6 separate regions of the Homo sapiens genome follow, and regions 2, 3, 4, 5 and 6 are each linked to region 1. The links are contacts of gene promoters, found by promoter capture Hi-C in blood cells and fetal thymus (Javierre and others, 2016). All regions are on one chromosome and are shown on one strand. The core of a region is centred on a gene start or on the middle of the fragment in contact, and the rest is flanking DNA. Distances in the headings are between cores, read along the strand shown. Region 1 holds the start of LRPPRC (leucine rich pentatricopeptide repeat containing). Region 2 holds the start of SRBD1 (S1 RNA binding domain 1). Region 3 has its middle 4.3 kb from the start of TRI-TAT2-1. Region 4 overlaps SRBD1 (S1 RNA binding domain 1). Region 5 holds the start of COX7A2L (cytochrome c oxidase subunit 7A2 like). Region 6 has its middle 4.7 kb from the start of PRKCE.

The links. Contacts are between HindIII fragments. The CHiCAGO score rates a contact against its expected background, and 5 or more counts as called.
Region 2: the fragment with the promoter of SRBD1 here is called in contact with the fragment with the promoter of LRPPRC in region 1 in 2 of 17 cell types (naive CD8 T cells and non-activated CD4 T cells); the score reaches 6.2 in naive CD8 T cells.
Region 3: a fragment that was not itself captured here is called in contact with the fragment with the promoter of LRPPRC in region 1 in 1 of 17 cell types (non-activated CD4 T cells); the score reaches 6.2 in non-activated CD4 T cells.
Region 4: a fragment that was not itself captured here is called in contact with the fragment with the promoter of LRPPRC in region 1 in 7 of 17 cell types (total CD8 T cells, naive CD4 T cells, fetal thymus and 4 more); the score reaches 15.2 in total CD8 T cells.
Region 5: a contact is called between a fragment that was not itself captured here and the fragment with the promoter of LRPPRC in region 1, in 7 of 17 cell types (monocytes, naive CD4 T cells, non-activated CD4 T cells and 4 more). The highest score is 14.6, in monocytes.
Region 6: a fragment that was not itself captured here is called in contact with the fragment with the promoter of LRPPRC in region 1 in 1 of 17 cell types (total CD8 T cells); the score reaches 5.1 in total CD8 T cells.

What each region holds. Positions count from the first base shown.
Region 1 is chr2:43,994,484-43,997,641 of GRCh38, forward strand. It overlaps LRPPRC (leucine rich pentatricopeptide repeat containing), which reads right to left and starts at 1,506. Exons shown (of 38, transcript NM_133259.4): 1 at 1,316-1,506. The coding sequence starts at 1,464. RefSeq lists enhancers at 1,057-1,708, 1,504-1,783 and a silencer at 1,084-1,403. The HindIII fragment of the contact is 4,663 bases long and covers 1-1,685 here.
Region 2 is chr2:45,609,956-45,612,957 of GRCh38, forward strand. It overlaps SRBD1 (S1 RNA binding domain 1), which reads right to left and starts at 1,312. Exons shown (of 21, transcript NM_018079.5): 1 at 1,264-1,312. RefSeq lists an enhancer at 963-1,132. The HindIII fragment of the contact is 4,677 bases long and covers 1-2,695 here.
Region 3 is chr2:42,813,441-42,816,246 of GRCh38, forward strand. No RefSeq gene overlaps it. Among named protein-coding and RNA genes, the nearest start is that of TRI-TAT2-1, 4.3 kb to the left of the region's middle. The HindIII fragment of the contact is 1,788 bases long and covers 552-2,339 here.
Region 4 is chr2:45,565,919-45,568,731 of GRCh38, forward strand. All of the region lies in intron 9 of SRBD1 (S1 RNA binding domain 1), which reads right to left. Among named protein-coding and RNA genes, the nearest start is that of SRBD1, 44 kb to the right of the region's middle. The HindIII fragment of the contact is 581 bases long and covers 1,129-1,709 here.
Region 5 is chr2:42,360,805-42,364,080 of GRCh38, forward strand. It overlaps COX7A2L (cytochrome c oxidase subunit 7A2 like), which reads right to left and starts at 413. Exons shown (of 3, transcript NM_004718.4): 1 at 286-413. The coding sequence starts at 357. RefSeq lists enhancers at 1-330, 104-423, 331-1,074, 444-503, 1,064-1,153 and a silencer at 704-873. The HindIII fragment of the contact is 1,989 bases long and covers 1,029-3,017 here.
Region 6 is chr2:45,645,503-45,648,483 of GRCh38, forward strand. No RefSeq gene overlaps it. Among named protein-coding and RNA genes, the nearest start is that of PRKCE, 4.7 kb to the right of the region's middle. The HindIII fragment of the contact is 810 bases long and covers 942-1,751 here.

The DNA of each region.
Region 1 (3,158 bases), core at 256-2,755:
ACTACTACTCCCACCTTATAGCTAAGGAAGCTGAGGCCTGGAGATGTTAAGTAACTTCTCTAATGGCATAATGCAGATAATTTGAGGATAAAATGCAGATAAATCTGGAGTAGGCTGCAGTCTGGGCCCAGCCTACTGCAGATCCCTGGCTCTCAGTCCTTACGCGAGCTCTCAAAGTACCTTAATTTACAAGCATCAGTCTTTCAAAATCATTTTTTCTCCAATGCTAAAAGCTCAGCACCTATCTCCCCTTCTCTGGTGGTCAGAATACTATTAATAACCAAATGAACACTTTCACCAACTTTTCTTTTCCCCTCCACTACAAAAGTCTATACCAAACCTATCTCTGATAAACCTCAAACCATGAGAGCATTTATTCGCCTATCTGACACCCACTTAGAGTTTAACTTGCCTTTGCATCCCCAGATTCCAACAGAGTGCCTTGCATGTGCTCATTCATTCAAAGACACTTACAGGACGGGAGCGGTGGCTCACACCTGTAATCCCAGCACTTTGGGAGGCCGAGGCAGGAGGATCGCTTGAAGTCAGGAGTTCGAGACTAGCGTGGCCAACATGGTGAAACCCAGTCTCTACTAAAAGTACAAAAGTTAGCCTGGCATGGTGGCGCACACCTGTAATCCCAGCTACTCGGGAGGCTGAGGCAGGAGAATCGCTTGAACCCGGGAAGCGGAAGTTGCAGTGAGCTGAGATCGCGCCACTGCACTCCAGCCCAACTCGCGCAACACCTTCTTAAATGCTGAAGGAAAACTCCATTCAAGAGAACGCAGGCAAAAGCCCAAAGTGATCATAATCCAGCGTCCAGCTTTAAGTCATCCGTGGCTCACCCAAACTCCCAACCCACTCCTCGCCGCCCCATCCCTCGCAAAAAGCTAAATTTCCAATATCTAAATGCTAGGTGGTTACTGATCACCAACGGTGACCGCACGTGGGACACCACCCAAGCTGGCCAAGTGTAAGGAAAAGACCACCACCCGACTTCCCAAAGCAGTCTTCAAAGCCCCCCTCATCTTCGTTGACCATGGGTACCCCGAGGGCAGTAAGGTCCAGGCTGAAGTGGCGGGGGCAGGATTCAAGCCGGAGGCAGGCCATGCCCACAGCCGTGACCTTCTGAAGGCGCTTAACCCTGTCACCCGAAAACCCCTGGTAGGGAGCGTGGTGCGGAGCCCGGGGAGGCTAGGTCCTGGGGCGGGGAGAAGGGTGGCGAGCACAGGCAGGACCCGGTCCCTGCCGGCACCCACGACCCCGGGGGACCCTGGCGCCGCAGCTTGCCTGGAGAAAGGGCCTGGGCACTCACCCGGCCACGGGCCCGGCGCGAGCGGCGGGCAGATAGGAGGCGGCATGCAGCCGGCCCGGGCCGCCAGGGAGGAGGCGCAGGGAGAGCGGGAGGCGCGGGGCCGCCCCGGCACGCAGCAACCAACGCGCGGATCTCAGCAGGGCTGCCATTGCTCGAACGTCCCCGCAGCGGGAAGCACGCTCCGCCAGAAGGACAGGAGGAGCATGTGACCGCAGGGTAGCCTGGCGCGGCAGAGACCAACTGCCGGGCGTGCCAAATGTGGGGGGAGCGACGGATTGTTTTAGGTTGGAAGATGGAAAACCGCACTTCTCCGAGGACAGAAGACCCAATGTAATATTTACATAAACGATGTTGCTTGATTCATTATCGAAGCTTTTCTTTTCCGTCTTCCGTCTCCGATCTGGGCATCGTGTTCATTCGCTGCACCCCTGCACTCCTCTGTTGGTAGAGCCGCAAGAGGTCAACTCCTCCCAGGTTGGCGCAGAGGCTTGTGGGAGGCCAACTAGTAAAAATACCGAGAACTCTCGAGGAGAGCCGACTATGAAGATCCCAGGACGTGGGAAGGTTTCCCCCGCCCCCGAGTGCAGATGTTGCTGCTAACGTTCAGCCCTGACGCCATGTCCAATAGGAACGGCCCTTCACTCTCAGAAACGCGGGCCGGAGAAACCGTGGAGGTCTTTTGCACCTTGCCGTTTGCCTCCCAGGTTCAACATGATAGGATGTGGATTATCAGGGCCTGGGAACAGTGTAAAGGAACGCGCAGGTCCCCACCCTAAGCGCGTACGCGGGGCCTCGCTTTAGAAAATAAATGAATTCTACCAAAAATCCTATAGTTTTAAAGCTGGAATTGAACTGACTCTCTTCCCCAACCCTCCACCCCTACCGCGCCTCTCCCTTCAGTAAATGCACATATACATGTGAGAAGTAAAAGAACAATGTAATTAAGAGTCTCCAGCCAAATATGGGGAGAAAACTGGCAAGTTAAACCCATCGCTGGCGAAGTGGCTCACGCCTGTAATCCCATCACTTTGGAAGGCCGAGGCGGGTGGATCACCTGAGGTCAGGAGTTGGAGACCAGCCTGGCCAACATGGTGAAACCCCATCTGTACTAAAAATACAAAAAATTAGCCGGGCGTGGTGGCGGGCGCCTGTAATCTCAGCTACTCGGGAGGCTGAGGCAGGAGAATTGCTTGAACCCGAGAGGTGGAGGTTGCAGTGAGCCAAGATGGCGCCATTGCACTCCAGCCTGGGTGACACAGCGAGACTCTGTCTAAAACAAAACAAAAAAACCACGTCGCTGCCTTCACAGGGCTTACAGACTGGATCGGTTCCCTGTGCACACGTGGGAAGCTGAGAACAGCCTTCCACTCCCTCTACACCTGCCTGTCCCCTACCTATCACGAGGCAAACGCGGCGGGTATTTCCTCTGGAAGCCCTCCCACGGTCATTTCCGAAGTGACTGTTTATCCCACTGGACTCCTTATCAGTTAATCCCACGAACTCCTTATCAGTAGGGACTGTGATCTCTTATTGTAGGCCATACACCTACCCAGTGCCAGACACACAGTAGGTCTCATTAAATATGTGTTAAATTAATGTCTATTTTGAGATGACCTAGCTCACCTCTCCTTTGAGAGATGAGGGAACGAAGACACCCGCTCCAAGCCCCCAAAAGAAACAAGGTGAATTGATTGACTCTGGGTTATATTACTGAGCACTGGGAATACAAGTTATTCACCTATTCAACACGTATTTATTGAATACATATCCAGTGCCATACACTATTTGAAATCCTAGGAATACAGCAGAGAACAAAACAAACCAACCCTAGATTCTAATTAAG
Region 2 (3,002 bases), core at 62-2,561, 1.6 Mb after region 1:
AATGAACATAATATGTACAAATATGGTCTCTACAGAGGAATATACATTTATTTTCCACCACTCTTAGGCAATGCCACACATTGCATTCATCTCTTTCTGAAGAAGTGATGGCACATAAGAATATTCCTATTCTTCAGTGACTTGGGATTTTTCCCTCCTTTCAAACTATCTTAATCACTGTAGGCACATGAGCATATTCCAAACCAATAATTTGGAGGTTGCTATGATGTTACTAAGGGAAGAGCCACTAAACTAGGACGACTGCAAATCAGGACAAAGGGGCAAAAGGACGTGCACACTAACAAATACTAAATTAAAATTGGAAAAAAAAATTTAAATTCAAGAAGGCAAACAAAGGAGGACAATTTCTTAAGAAGCACCTAAACAAGTTTCCATGAAGGACCAACAGAGTGCTTGAATGTTAGCAGATTCCCAAGTCACAAAAACAAAATACTAGAGCTGAAAGAACCTGAGATCAGACAGTCCCGCTATATTCAGAAATCTGAGACCCAATGAGGTGAAACAGTTTACTCAAAGGGGAAAGATATGTGGCAAAGGACTATAGCCCAGTGCCTGGAACACCAAGACTAGTCTCGTTTCCCATTCCACACACAATATGTTAATGACATGTCACGTGAGGGGTTCGAGGAAAGTTGCCTAGAGAGTTCCCAATTCATTCCTTTCCTCCGGTTACTGAGCGCCTCCTACATGCCAGGCGCACTACAGAAGGTGCAGTTGATTCAGACAGGGCCACCATGACCGTGAAAAGGGTGCTTCCTCTCCCACCTCCGATAATTTTAGGTATAAAAACAATCCAGGTAAATTAGCCGGGTGTGATGACGGGCGCCTGTAGCCCCAGCTACTCGGGAGGCTGAGGCAGGCGAATGGCGTGAATCCGGGAGGCGGAGCTTGCAGTGAGCCGAGATCGCTCCACTACACTCCAGCCTGGGCGACAGAGGGAGACTCCGTCTCAAAAAAAAAAAAAACAGGCTTGCCCAGGCTTTTCTATGTCTGTTATGCGCTAAGAGCTGCAGCAATTTGGCTGAAAAGAGGTGTCACGAGGTAGCTAGGAGGGGTTTTCGGGTGGTCGGTTGTGAGAGACCGCTGACAGTAAAATGTAATGAACTTCTCACTTTTAAAAAAGGGGTGTTATTGCCCAAATGAGCGCTCAGAACTTTTTTAATGGCCCCAAAGATCCCGGAGCCCGGACGCCGGGCTCTTGAGAACCCGCAAGACGACCGCCAAGGCGCACGCACAGCTCACCTTCCCGCCCGGCACGTCAGAAGACCCGAGATTCCGTGAGTGCCACCGCACCTTCCGGTTCCCGCCGGAAGTTTTTCAAACGCCAGAAGGTCCGCCTCGCTTCTTCCGGACCAAGTTAGCCACAGACCTCCAAGGCGCGGCGCTACCGAACGGGGCGGAGCCAGGCTGGACGGAGGCGGGGCTAGAGCGAGGATCCCGAGGGAGCGCCGGGGTGGGGCTGGTTCGTAGAAATGAAAAATGACTTTTTTTTTACGTGTTATTTACCAAGAACACTAAACTCTTAAGCCCACAGATACAGCCAAATAAATTAGATTATAAAAGTAGGGAAATAAGGCTGCTGTTGTCTACATTCGAATTTAGCAGATCAAAACCCCATGGATTTGTTTTAGAAAATTCTAAAAAGCAGCTTTCCACTGCTAATGACTTATTTCCAGGGACTCTGAGTACTGAAGAGCCTAGCAAGTTATTGAAATGACCTGTGACCGTGCCTTGTTGCAGATCTACCGGAAGTGAGCATAGATTTTACTGGATAATTTTTGTGATTGGGGGAAAAAAAAAAGGATTCTTTCTAAATTTAGTAAATCTAATCTTCTATATCTGAGATTGTTGGCCAGGAAAGATCAGTTTCCGAGATTGTTTAGGGATTTTTTTTTCCTTTTAATTAGCACAGTCGTATGTTGCCTTTAGTGATGGTTCCAGAAGGCCTAGAATTGTCTACTACAATCACAGTCTCCTTCACAATTTATGGTCCTGAAGAAATACTAGAGAACACCTTACCGTTCAGGATTGTGGGAAGAGAAACCAGATCATAGAAATCAACAACAATAATGTACTACTTACTATTCACCTACTTTTGATGTTGCATTTGCTACTCAGGTTTATGGTAAGGGGTTGTCTTGGTCAATTTTCTGCTGCTGTAACCAAATACCATAGACTGGTAGATTTATAAAGAAAGAGATTTGTTTGGCTTGTAGTTCTGAAGGCTGGGAAGTCCAAGACAGAGGGCATTATTGTTGTGTCAAAATATGATGGAGGGCATCATACTGGGGTAGGGGTGGGGGAGGCATGTGAACCCAATTGACTCCCGAAATAACTAACCCTCCTGTGATAATGGAATTAACTCATTCATGACCTAATCATTTCCTAAAGGTCCCACCTCTTCATACTATTACAATGACAAGTTTCAACTTGAATTTTTGAAGGGGACATTCCAATCATTGCAGAGGTAGTAAGGGTAAAGGTGAACTAATATACTGCAAAGTCTTTTGACATAAGTCCTGCCCTGGAGGAATTTACGACCAAGAGTAGGAACCAGATACAGCCAGAGGAAACAGACACCCAAGCAAAACAGTCTAGCTTCAAGGGTTGGGTATGCAGGTAGTAGCCACACTACAGTGAGGAGGAGAGTAAGAGTGGGCCAGCAAAGCATTGAAGCTTGACTTTCCTCTCCCCACAAGGGATTTTTGCCTTACAGCTGGGGAAGAAAAAAAAAATCACAAAAATAAATAGCCTGTTAAGATTTTAGACATCAGACATCTGGGGAAAATAAAATCTGAAGCAGGTTCTCTAAAATTAAAGTATGTAGGTAGTGGCCTACTCTAAAGGCCAATAAGGACTGTCCAGAGAATATTTCCCTTGGAATTCTATAAGAGAGTCACTCCCACTACACGCTGTCAAGGAAAATTTGTAATCACTTAAGTATAAAACAGGCCCTCCCACAAAAACTGCCTTTTCTGTCT
Region 3 (2,806 bases), core at 196-2,695, 1.2 Mb before region 1:
ATTATTGATTAGGCCATAAACAACAAACATACTCTGAGCCTATTTGTGGCCCAGTGTCTTAAAGTGATGTTGATAGAATTTTTTAAGGTTGTGGTGGGTGATAAAAATCAAGTGAGGCAGGGCATGGTGGCTCACACCGTAATTCCAACACTTTGGGAGGCTGAGGCAGAAGGATTGTTTGAGCCCAGGAGTTCCAGACCAGCCTGGGCAACATGGTGAAACCCTGTCTCTACAAAAAATACAAAAATTAACCCAGTGTGATGAGGCACGCCTGTAGTCTCAGCTACTTGGGAGGCTGAGGTGGGAGGCTCACCTGAGCCCAAGAGGTCGAGGCAGCAGTGAGCTGAGATTGCACCACTGCACTCCAGCCTGAGTGACTCTGTCTCAATTAAAAAAAAAAAAATCAAGTCAGAATATGGGAAAATGCTTTAAAAACCACAAAGTATTATGACATTTTTATTAGCATCAGACCACTGGCTTAGGCCTGACTATACTGTGTAGTGGCTTCAAGAAGGAAGTGGGTAAGTATGAAGTGACCAAACTGCGAAGGAAGCTTGAAGTGACAACTGAACAACCCCAGGCCCCAGCAGGAGAGAAACCTGATGTAACCCAGGCTGACCTTGGCTTTGTAGAATGCTTGGATGAAGAAGGGCTCATCAGAGCTAGGGGTGACACAGCCTGAAAGGAGTGCAGATTCAGTAGAATTTAGAAGAAGAGTGGAGCCAATCTGGAGGCAAATGTTTCTGACAAATGATAAGATGCAATTTTCATAGAGATAATTGTAAGTCTATGTTCAGTTCAAAGTTCCATGTGTGAGGATGCCTGGCTTGACAGCTGTTTGCATGTAAAAGATCTGGGGATTTCAGATGTGTGCAACCTCGGTTGTGCCAGCAGTGTGACCCAACTGCTAAGAATGTCAACTGATTATTAATGCATTACTATATAATGCATTAGATGCTGTGGTGTCAGGGATCACAAACCAGCCATCTATGGAACAAATCTAGCCTGCAGACAGATTTTGTTTGGCCTTCCAGCACTAACTTGCAAAGTGCTGACATTAAAAAAAAAAAATCATTTGCCTCCATATTGGGAGATTTCACAGAAATGCCGAGATTTTCAGTTTCTAATGAAAAGTCAGGACTGGGTGTGGTGCCTCACGCCTGTAATCCCAGCACTTTGGGAGGCTGAGGCGGGTGGATCACCTGAGGTCAGGAGTTCAAGACCAGCCTGGCCAACATGGCGAAATCCCACCTCTACTAAAAATACAAAAATTCGCCATGCCTGTAGTCCCAGCTACTCGGGGGGCTGAGGCAGGAGAATCTCTTGAACCTGAGAGGCGGAGGTTGCAGTGAGCCAAGATCACACCACTGTATTCCAGCCTGGGAGACAGAGTGAGACCTTGTCTAAAAAAAAAAAAGCCGGGCCATCTGGGGCCCTTATTCCTATATGGCAAGACTGACTGCCCATCTTGGATGTGTATGTGGCTTTCGGTTTGCCACGGTCCCTGTCACTCTCCATTATTCTCCAACACAGAGGTAGGTGCCAGCTGCCTTGATTCACTGGCTTGCTTTGCTGTTTTCTTTATCCCAGGCTCATTTCAGTCATTTGTACCCTACAGATATTGAGTGTGTGGCCTCCATATGGGTAAAGGGAGGGAATCCTGTTGAACTCTCAGTAGGTCAGAACACAGCCAGAGGGCTGTGATCTGTAGAAACAAGCTCATTTAAAATTCAACAAAACGAAACCAAAGCCCAATTCTTTATTATGGAAAATTTCAAACATACACAAAAGTAGAGAGAACAGTATAGTTAACCCCCATGTTTCCACTTTTAAAGAATTGTCAACATTGTTTTATCTATATCCTTCCCACAACATTCACCCCTTACCTCTGGAATATTTTAGAGGAAATCCTAGATATGGTTTAATTTAACCTGTCAAAACTTCAGCATATATACCCAACAGGTAATCACTTTTTTAAAAAAGCATAACCATGGTATCATTATTACACCCAACAAGAGTAATAATAATTACTTAGCTTCATCTCATACCTCATCTGCTTTCAAATTGCTACCCATATCTCTGAAAAATATTTTTACAGAAGATTGGTTTGTTTGAATCAAGATCCAAATATGGGCTGTCCTTGGCATTTGATTGGTGTATCCTTTAAGATATTTAAAGGATAAATCTCTTTTAATCTATTCGAATTTCCTCTCTTTTCACCCCCTTTTATGACATTTCTTTGTTGACCTTTAGAATTTCCCACAGATTTTGGCTAATTGCATGCTCAAGGTTTTCTTCAGCCCCATGTTCTTCAATCCCTCATGGCAATTATATCTAGAAGCTTTATAATATTCAGATTATTTTTCCCCCAAAATATATTCTAGATGGTACTGTGTGCTATTGCACCACAAAAGAAAGTACATAATGTCTGGCTGTCCCACATTTAGAAATATGGCTTTTGATTGATGATTTCAGCATGGTCAGCAGAATCCATCCATTATAAAATCCTTCATCAGCCTCTAATCCTTCATCAGCGTGGTTGGCTGAATCCATCCATTATAAAGTCCTTCACCAGCCTCTAACCTAATGTTTTAGCAGCCGTTGATTATCTTGGTCTAAATCTATTATTTTTATTGAGGATTCCCCAATGGTGCTTTTCTAATTCTATTATTCCTTCTGTATTTATGACTATGGAAGCACAATTCACATAAGAAAGACTGGATAATTTCTTGATTCTTTCTCTTTTTCCACCAATCTTTGATTCCCTAATAATTTCTAAAGATAACCAATAAGTTTTAAATTTTAA
Region 4 (2,813 bases), core at 169-2,668, 1.6 Mb after region 1:
CCTGGCCACAACCCAATTTAAAATGTACAAAAGATCTGAAGAGGTATTTGTTCAAAAATTATATACAAATGACTGATAAGTACATGAATAGATGCTCAGCATCATTAGAGAAATGCAAATCAAAACACAAAAAGATGGACAATAAATGTTGGGAGGGATGTAGAGAAATCGGAACCTTCACAAACCGCTGGTGAGAATGTAAAAATGGCATAGCCACTCTGGAAAATATGGCAGTTCCTCAAAAGGTTAAATGTAAAGCTACCATATAACACAGCAATTATACTCCTAGGTATATATCCAAGAGAAATAAAAACATATGTCCACACAAAAACTTAGACACGAATGTTCATAGCATTATTCATAATATCCAAAAAGTAGAAACAACCAAACTATTCACTGACTGATGAATGGATAAGTAAAATGTGGAGAATCCATATAATGTAATATTACGTAGCAATAAAAAGGAAAGGCATACTAATACATACCATAACAGACAAACTCTGAAACCATTATGCTAAGTGAAAGAAACCAGCGGCAAAAGTCTGCATATTGTATGATTCCTTTATATGAAATGACCAGAACAGACAAATCTATAGAGATAGAAAGTTGGCTGCCTAGAGCTTGATGCAAGGAAATATTTGGGAGAAAAATGTCCTAAAATTGCTTGTGGTAATGGTGACACAACTGAGTGAATTTACGAAAAACCATTGAACTTACAAAGTTCTAATGGTTGCATTAAATGCAATATGAATTTTACTTCAATAAACCTATTAGAAAATTAAAACACTCTTTTCTTAAAGCACTCTTTAATACCAATTATTAAGATGATAAATAGTAACACAAATTAACCAAATAATTTAATCAAGTTAACAGCCTCCCTTAAATATCTGCTAGTCTGTAACTATATATTTATGTATATTATATATTAAAAATTAAACAACATCACTTCAACATATATTCAGATTTCTCACTAATTCTTAATGGCTTTCTTCCAATTACTCTTAATGAATGGGATTTTAATAAACTAAGTTCTCCCTTTACAGGACACAAACTGATATTTTAACAATTTTAGCACATTTCCATGAGGATCTCTAACAAAAACTTAGACTTCCTATCTGTGGTGAAACAAGCTTAGAATAATTCAACTTAATATTACCACAAAATAATTCTACCACGAAAATTTCTCAATTTGTGCTTCATGTTGAAAAGAATGTCAAAAGATAAAACGCGTATTTTTTTGTAACTTTAATTTAAATTTTAAAAATATTGAGTAAAATTTTAAATATCAAACAAATTGTCAGAGTTTTAAAAAAATTATATAGGGGACTTTTTTCTTTTCTTATATACTTGAGAAATTTCTAAAGTAAACATCAGCAGAAATAGAACAATCACTTAGAAATAAATGTTTCGGCTGGGTATGGGGGCTCATGCTCATAATCCCAGCACTTTGAGAGGCCAAAGCAGGAGGACTGGTTGAGCTCAGGAGTTCAAGATGAGCCTGGGCAACATGGCGAAACCCCAACTCTCAAAAAATACAAAAATCAGCCAGGTGTGCTTGTGCATGCCCATAGTCCCAGCTCCTCAGGAGGCTGAAGTGGGAGAATGCCTTCAGCCCGCAAGGCGAAACTTGCAGTGAGGTGGGATTCTGCCACTGCACTCCAGCCTGGGTGAAAGAGCAAGATACTGTCTAAGAAAAAAAAAAAAAAGTAAGCTTACATAAAACAATATATTCAATAATACTGCACAGAACTATCTATAAAGAAATAAATTGTGAATACAAAATAAACTTCAGTTTGAGCTCAGCAGAGACTTCCGTATTTGCTATAGGCTGTGCCAGCTTAGTAAACAGAAGTTCTTCATACAAGAAATTTTCTCTAATAAATTAAGTAGAGTACAACAATATAGAGGAGAGTTATTTAATTCCGATTTACATAAGTATACCATAATATCACAATACATTATTGGAGGTTTTTTGCTCTTTTTCACCATACCTAGTAATGTAATACGTCAAACTTACAAAAAATCCTGACACACAGGAAGACCCATGGTGGAGAAGGGAATAAGGTAACAGAAATAATAAAGCTTGGGACAGAAACTGAAATTGAAAGTGAGTAGTGGGTTAAAGCGGAATTACTGCAGATGGTGACATTGAACAGGAAATAGGTAGTTAAGACACAGGAAATTGCACGTCAGTAAAAAGACACACCAATAAAGATAAGGAACAGAAAGTCCCATGAGAGAATGTGAAGACTGAGTTACAAATTCATGTGGTAGAAAAGATCACACTAAGGACCAATTTGAAAAAGAAAGAAAAAAAGATGCAGCTGGAAGAATTTACTAAGCAGCTATTAACGGCTATTCCCACAGTACTTGGAGAGAGTTCCACAGTAATTTTCCTTCACCACACTGTCTTTCATCATTTGCATTCATTTCTGTGTTCTGTGATACTGTGCTGGGGTTATCTACATAAAGGCTGAAAAGTAAGGTTCAGATTTAGGACATGAGGTCTCAGCACTATAGGAATTGGGAAGCTGTTTTTGTAACCTAGCATATCATCACTCCGGCCTGTACATGATAAACTAAAAAGTTCGTAAAACAGCAGTGCTGTTTTTCAAAACTGACATTTCCAAAATGCTCTGCTTTCCCAGGCCTGAATACTGTCACACCCAGAAGCCTGTGTCAATCATAATCTTAAATTCAGTCACTAACTCAGAATGCCACATTTGCTACACACACTAGTTAAAATGCAGAGCCCAATAAAATATTTTCAAGCAGAAATTAGAAGGCTAGGTTTTAACAGAATAAAAGCATTA
Region 5 (3,276 bases), core at 773-3,272, 1.6 Mb before region 1:
AAACCATCCCTTTTAGACAAGTGACCCCGGGGGTCACCTTGACCCCTGCAGTGAGCCAGACCAAACTTCCACGCCAGGCCAGCCCCCGCCAGGTGAGCAGGTACACAAAAAGAAGCCTCAGTGACCACCGTACGCTGGTGTGGAGAGGCCCCGGGAGGTGCAAGGAGAACAGAGACGAACTCGACCGCGGGCAGAAGCCTCCCCTGGCTCCAACGCCGCGACTGCCTGTCGCCGAGGCTAGGGCCGCCACTTCTCATGTCCGAGCTGGCCAGGCGCCACTCGTACCTGCGGGCTATAGGCCTCCGAAGCCCATGCTCCTGCCAACTTCTGCGTGAAGCCACTAAACTTGTAGTACATGACGCCCAGAGTCCGGCTTCCCGCATCCGCTGCCAACGCGACCGCCCCAGAGAAGGACCCCGCCTCCCCGGCTGTGGTCCCGAGACTCAGCGCAAGGACCCGGTGCTGGGACTAGGGCTGCCCGAAGATCGCCTAACTTAAAACCTGCACACTTAAGCCGCATTGGGGAACCAAAAGCCAGGGTTCTCAGGACCACGAAAGGCAAAACCAGCTCTAAGAGAGCACGCAAAGTCGCTGTGGCGGAGTCTGTAGGAAATATGAAGTTCCCTCTTTCCCCCATTCAGATTTGGGCAGTGCCACGACAACTCAAGAAATGCGCAAGCGCTCCACGGACTAAGCCCGGCGGACTAAGCCCGGCAGTGTCGGAGTCAGGTGGAGCATGCTTTAGGAGGGGCGGGCTCCAGGCGGGGCCTGGGGGGGAGAGGGCGGTGATTGGTGGGCGTGGTCTGGGTAGGGGCGGGGCTACATCGAAGCCGGTTGGGAATTCCACCATCCGAGAGAGTCTGTGCTGCGGAGCCACCGTCTGGTCGTCGGGTTGAAGGCGTCTCTTGCTTTACCGAACTTTAACTGATCGTAGTCTCATTTATTTCCTTCCGACCTAGAGCACCTCTTATCCAGAAGCCACCACCTGCTGTTGCTCAGTCTGCCCAGGAGTATAGACTTGTCGGCCAAGCTTCCCCTGGCAACCTGGGAGTTGAAGCAAATAAGAAAATTTGGAAGCACCTGCTGAAGGCTGTTTAGTACCCAGGGCTGTTGGGAGATTTGCCCCAATAATATAAAAGTAGCCTCCTGGGCTTTGTGCAGAGGAAATACACATGCAGAGTGATCTAAAGCTCAGGTACCAGGATGTAAATGTCACACGGTTTCTCAGAACTGGTTTTTATTCTCACCTGAGTTTTAAGGTCATTGATTATTCATCCTTTTCCTGGCCTCTGCTCTTTGCGATAAATGAGGTAGGGGGAGGGTGATCAGAAACACTTGTAAAATCTGGACCTTGAGCCTGAAAGATCTGGAACTACCACTTTCAGTTCTGGTAGTATTCGCTTCAGTTCAATTTAAATATGTCTGTTAAGCCTGTGCTGTGTGCAAGGTACTGTGTAAAAGGAGTATACTAGTTTCTTACTCTCCAGGGATGGACTCAGGCTTTTCTTAGCTTCATCATCTAACCATAGGTTTACACAAGCATATTCTAGATGCACTTATGAAATCATGTTGCAAATTGATGGATGATACTAACCTATATATAGCATTGCCCTAAACTCATTTAATCTTCACAACAATCCTATAAGGTAAATGCTATTATCATCTCCATTTTAGAATACAGGAAAATGACGCCTGGAGAAGCTAAGTAACTTGCTCAGGTCAGGGATAAGTGGCAGAGCTAGGCATTTGGCTCAAGACTTCCTACTGTTAAGCACTATGTTACAAATAAATAGATATGAAGCCATTCTGAAAAGAGGAGGATCAAGGCTGAGCATTCCAGGGTGAGGGTGTACACCAGCATCCTGGTTGCAGGCTTACGTTCAAGAGCCCCAAGTATTCAGCACCGCCAATATGTTGTAAAGGTTTCAGCGAATTCATGTAAGCCAGCCCAAAGTTGCCACTTTTACAAAGAGACACTGTGATATAATGGAAAGAACATGCAATTTGGGTTTATGTCCATATTTCTCCAAGGATAAGTGGTTTGGGACTAGTGATTTCCTTTTTTTTTTTTTTTTTTTTAAATTCTTTTTGAAACAGGGTCTCACTCTGTCCCAGGCTGGAGTACAGTGGTGTGATCTCGGCTCATTGCAGCCTTGACTTCCCAGGCTGAGGTGATTCTCCTACCTCAGTCTCCCGGGTAGCTGGAACCACAGATGCGCGCCACCACGCCTGGCTAATTTTTTGTATTTTTAGTAGAGATGGGGTTTCACCATGTTTCCCAGGCTAGTCTCAAACTCCTGGGCTCAAGTGATCTGCCAAACTCAAGACTCCCAAAATGCTGGGATTACAGGCATGAGCCACCGTGCCAGGCCCACCCCATGTTTTGATACTGAATAGATTCAGGAAGATTTTTCTACGACAAAAAGTTCGACTACCTCAAAAGAAAATGATCCATTGACATTAGCCTTCTTGAGTCCCAGGCGCTAGCAAATATTGAGTGAAAGAAAAAGCCTTTCATAGAGTTTAGATTGAAAAGAGAAATTAAATGATTTGGGACAGCTACTGTCTCCATCCCACTGACTTCTGGACATATTTTGGAAGAAGAAACGAAAGAATATTCTCTAACTTTTAGCAGCACTAAGGTGTACCAGCTTCTTTTATAAGGTGCCTGTCAACACTGGTTATTTTCTTAAAGTTCCTGCCATCTGATTTTAGATCCTGCAAGACATAAATTAAGAATCCTGAAAATGTTACAACAGCCAGGCTGTTCAGTGGGAGATAAAATGTCAGTAGCAGAGTGTGGGTTGGGATGTCACATGGAATGGCTGATCATGGGAAGATTTTGTCTCATTTCCCAAATAAAACACAGCACACTCTGACAGTACTAAGGCACCCTATTCTCATTCGTATTTGCATATCCCATCCAACATCAAAGACAATCTTTTTTTATCACGATCCCTTCAGGTTGTTCCCCACATTCTATTCTGAAGGGAAGTGACCACGACTCAGAGTAGAGAAGCTTGCCAATCACCAGGTGAACTGAGTGAGTGCAAATGCCAGTCCAGCTCCTGGTGAATCTGAATGCCGCTGCTTCTCCATTTGTGAGGGGTGTGTGCTAATGGCCTCTGGCAGGCCGCTCTGTGAAAGCGCCTGGGGAATGGATGGAAAACCAACATAAAATTTAAATTGGGTAATACTGAGTAGAGATAGGAACCAACTGTGAAATAGTTGTTAATTTTTTAAATTCTCTCATTTTTTCCAAGCTGACTTTTAAAA
Region 6 (2,981 bases), core at 97-2,596, 1.7 Mb after region 1:
TCTCAGTTCTGTTGGGCCCAAATGCCTCCTTTGTGCTGCCGTGGTTCTAAAGTGGCTTTAAGGAACTGCACGTCCCATGAGGTGTTAAGCATATAACGGGGAGGGGAAAGGAGCTTGGATGGCTGCTGGTTCTGATATTAGGCAGGATTCTCCATGTCATCTGGAGTCTTCTGTATGCAGTGGCCCAGAGCAAAAGGGAGGGAGGACGGTCAAACAGTCTGACTCTTACTGTGATTATTGCTACCCTAAGTTCCTATAGTGCTTTCTGAGTGGGCTGATTATTTGTTATTTATTGTGTGCCACCTTGAATTACCTTTCTGCACCTGTCATTTGAGAATAGTGTCTATGGCAGTCTTCAGTGCTATTCACCAAACATTCCATGCTCCTTGACAGTACAGATGGTAGAACTTCCCAGACCCTGTGGTTGGGGAAGGCGGGATCTGAGACTGGTTCTAGCTAACAATTAGTGGGCACAAATGATATTTAGCACTTCCAGATGGATTTTTTTGGGTGGGGGGCAGGTGGGGGACAGGGTCTGGCTCTGTTGCCTAGGCTGAAGTGCAGTGTCACAATCTTGGCTCACTGCAGCCTCCTCAAGCAATTCTCCCACCTCAGCCTCCCAGGTAGCAGGGATTACAGGCACCCGTCACCATGCTCAGCTATGTTTTTTTAATTTAATTTAATTTTATTTTATTTTGTAGAGATGAGGTTTTGCTACCCAGGGCCTCCCAAAATGCTGGGATTACAGGCATGAGCCACCAGGTGGACTATTTAATTGCCTGTGTAAGACCCTCCAGACATCCTTTTTCTCTCTGCCCATGACCAGCCATGTTCCAGATGGTAACTTTTTAGCCAGCCTGGATCCAGAAGTGAGAATGACGCTAATGGGAAGCAGAGCTCCCAACCAACCTGCCATAGACTTACAGCATGCATGAGAAGAAAGCTTTGTTCTTTTAAGGTGTTGGGATCTGGGGAGAGCTTATTACAGCAGCATGACCTAGCCAATCCTGACTAATAAAGGGCCATTTTGTGTTGTCATTTTTTGTTTCCCTAGTGCTCCAAATGACATGACATGACACTACTGACTGTTAAATAAAGGACCGACTGAATTGATCTACTCATCTCCCCAGGTAGAGTAGGGATTATCCATATAGCTATTTATCCTCCCTGGAGCACCTGCCCTAGTATCCTATATATAGCAAGTACTTAGTAAAGACCCTTGGATTGACATATGATCTTAAAAGTCCAAGACAGGGGCCAGGCACGGTGGCTCACACTTGTAATCCCAGCACTTTGGGAGGCTGATGCAGGAGGACCACTAGAGTCCAGGAGTTCAAGACCAGCTTGAGCAACATAGTGAGACCCCATCTCTACAAAAACAATCAAAAAACTTTAGCTGGGCATGGTGGCACATGGCTTTAGTCCCAGCCACTCAGGAGGCTGAGGTGGGAGAATTGCTCAAGTCTGGGAGGCCAAGGCTGCAGTGAACTGTGATTGTGTCACTGTACTCCAGCCTGGTCAACAGAGTGAGACTCTGTCCCTTATAAAAAAAAAATCCCAAGACACAACCCAACATCTGACCCACAGAAGATGAAGAATGTTATGCTATTCTCCAAATGGCATCCTAGTGAGTAGGGCTCACAGTCACAGGCCCTGAGGAATAGGGGCACCAGGCCATCTCCTTCTGCATCCATCAGCAAGCTCGATAGGGCTGCCTCTGATCCCTCCACCTCTTTGCAGGTATTAAGTGAAGCTTGGCCTGAGTCACTGCAACAGAATATAGAGCAGAGATGGGGCCAGAATTCGGAGCTGAGATGGGGCCAAAATAAGAAGACATGGCAGGGCAGACAAAAGCCCACCACAGGAGTATAGGTGTGGGGCAAAGTTTGAAGTGGGGCTCAGGGTCGGGTGGGGGCTAGGCTGGGGCAGGACCAGCGGAGCTCTAGAAGGTTTCTGTGTCATTATACTGCTGCGCGTTCCATCCCATGGCCCAGGTGGTTGGATTCTGTTCAGCGGAGCATGTGTGGAATGTATGATAGACCCTGACCAGGCAGACCTTTGCAGAAGCCCATTAACATTCTATAAATGGCAACAACCAGCACAGCAACAGGGACATGAATATTAACGCGCTAGTCTACGGTTCTGGCTCCCCCTTCCCCGCTTCCTCCAGCTGATCTAAACAGTATCCACAGACAGTTTCAATTTTGATTATACAGAGTGTAAATCATCTTCAGACTTGGATCTTCTCTTTGTCTAATACCCTGTTTTGAGGTGAGCCTTCTGGAGGAAAATTACAGAAGAGAAAAATATTTATCCATCACAAAATCGCCTTTGTAAAGTATTAACTCTAGTTATGCTGCTTGCCCGCTGGAATGTTTGGTGTCTCTCCAGGAAAAAGTTGAGACCCATCTGCAGGCCCTCTGAGGTCTTAACTATCAGGTTCCTACTTACTTCATCTCCTGTTACTACCTGCCACAAGTGGGGCACACCTGGCCGCTTACCTGAAGAGTCATGGCTTTCCTACCTGTACACATTATACTTTTTGCAGCCAGTACCCTTCCCTTCCCTCTTTGCTGCTGGAAGAACTCCTGTTGGAAAGCCTAGACTCAGCTCAAAGGATTCTGCTGGTTGATGCCTTCCCAGGCTCCCCAGGCAAAGGGGTGATCCTTCTTCTGTGCCACTCCCATCCATAGACCTATTGCAACACTGATCGCCCTGTCCTGGCCACATCTGTTGTTCTATTCTTTTCTCATAAGCCTTAATTTTGAAAGGAGAAAGGCTCCATTTTGGTCATCTTTGTTAAATTATTGTATCATTTTCTTCCTTCTCACAAAGATTATGAAATAACTAGGCCATAGTTGGAATCCAAAGGTCATTTTACTCAATGTATATGCTAACCACTGTCTTATCCTTTGGGATTGGAGACAGGGGCTGAGGGAAGGATGAAGCTGGCAATAATTTCCTATTGGAATTTTACCGTC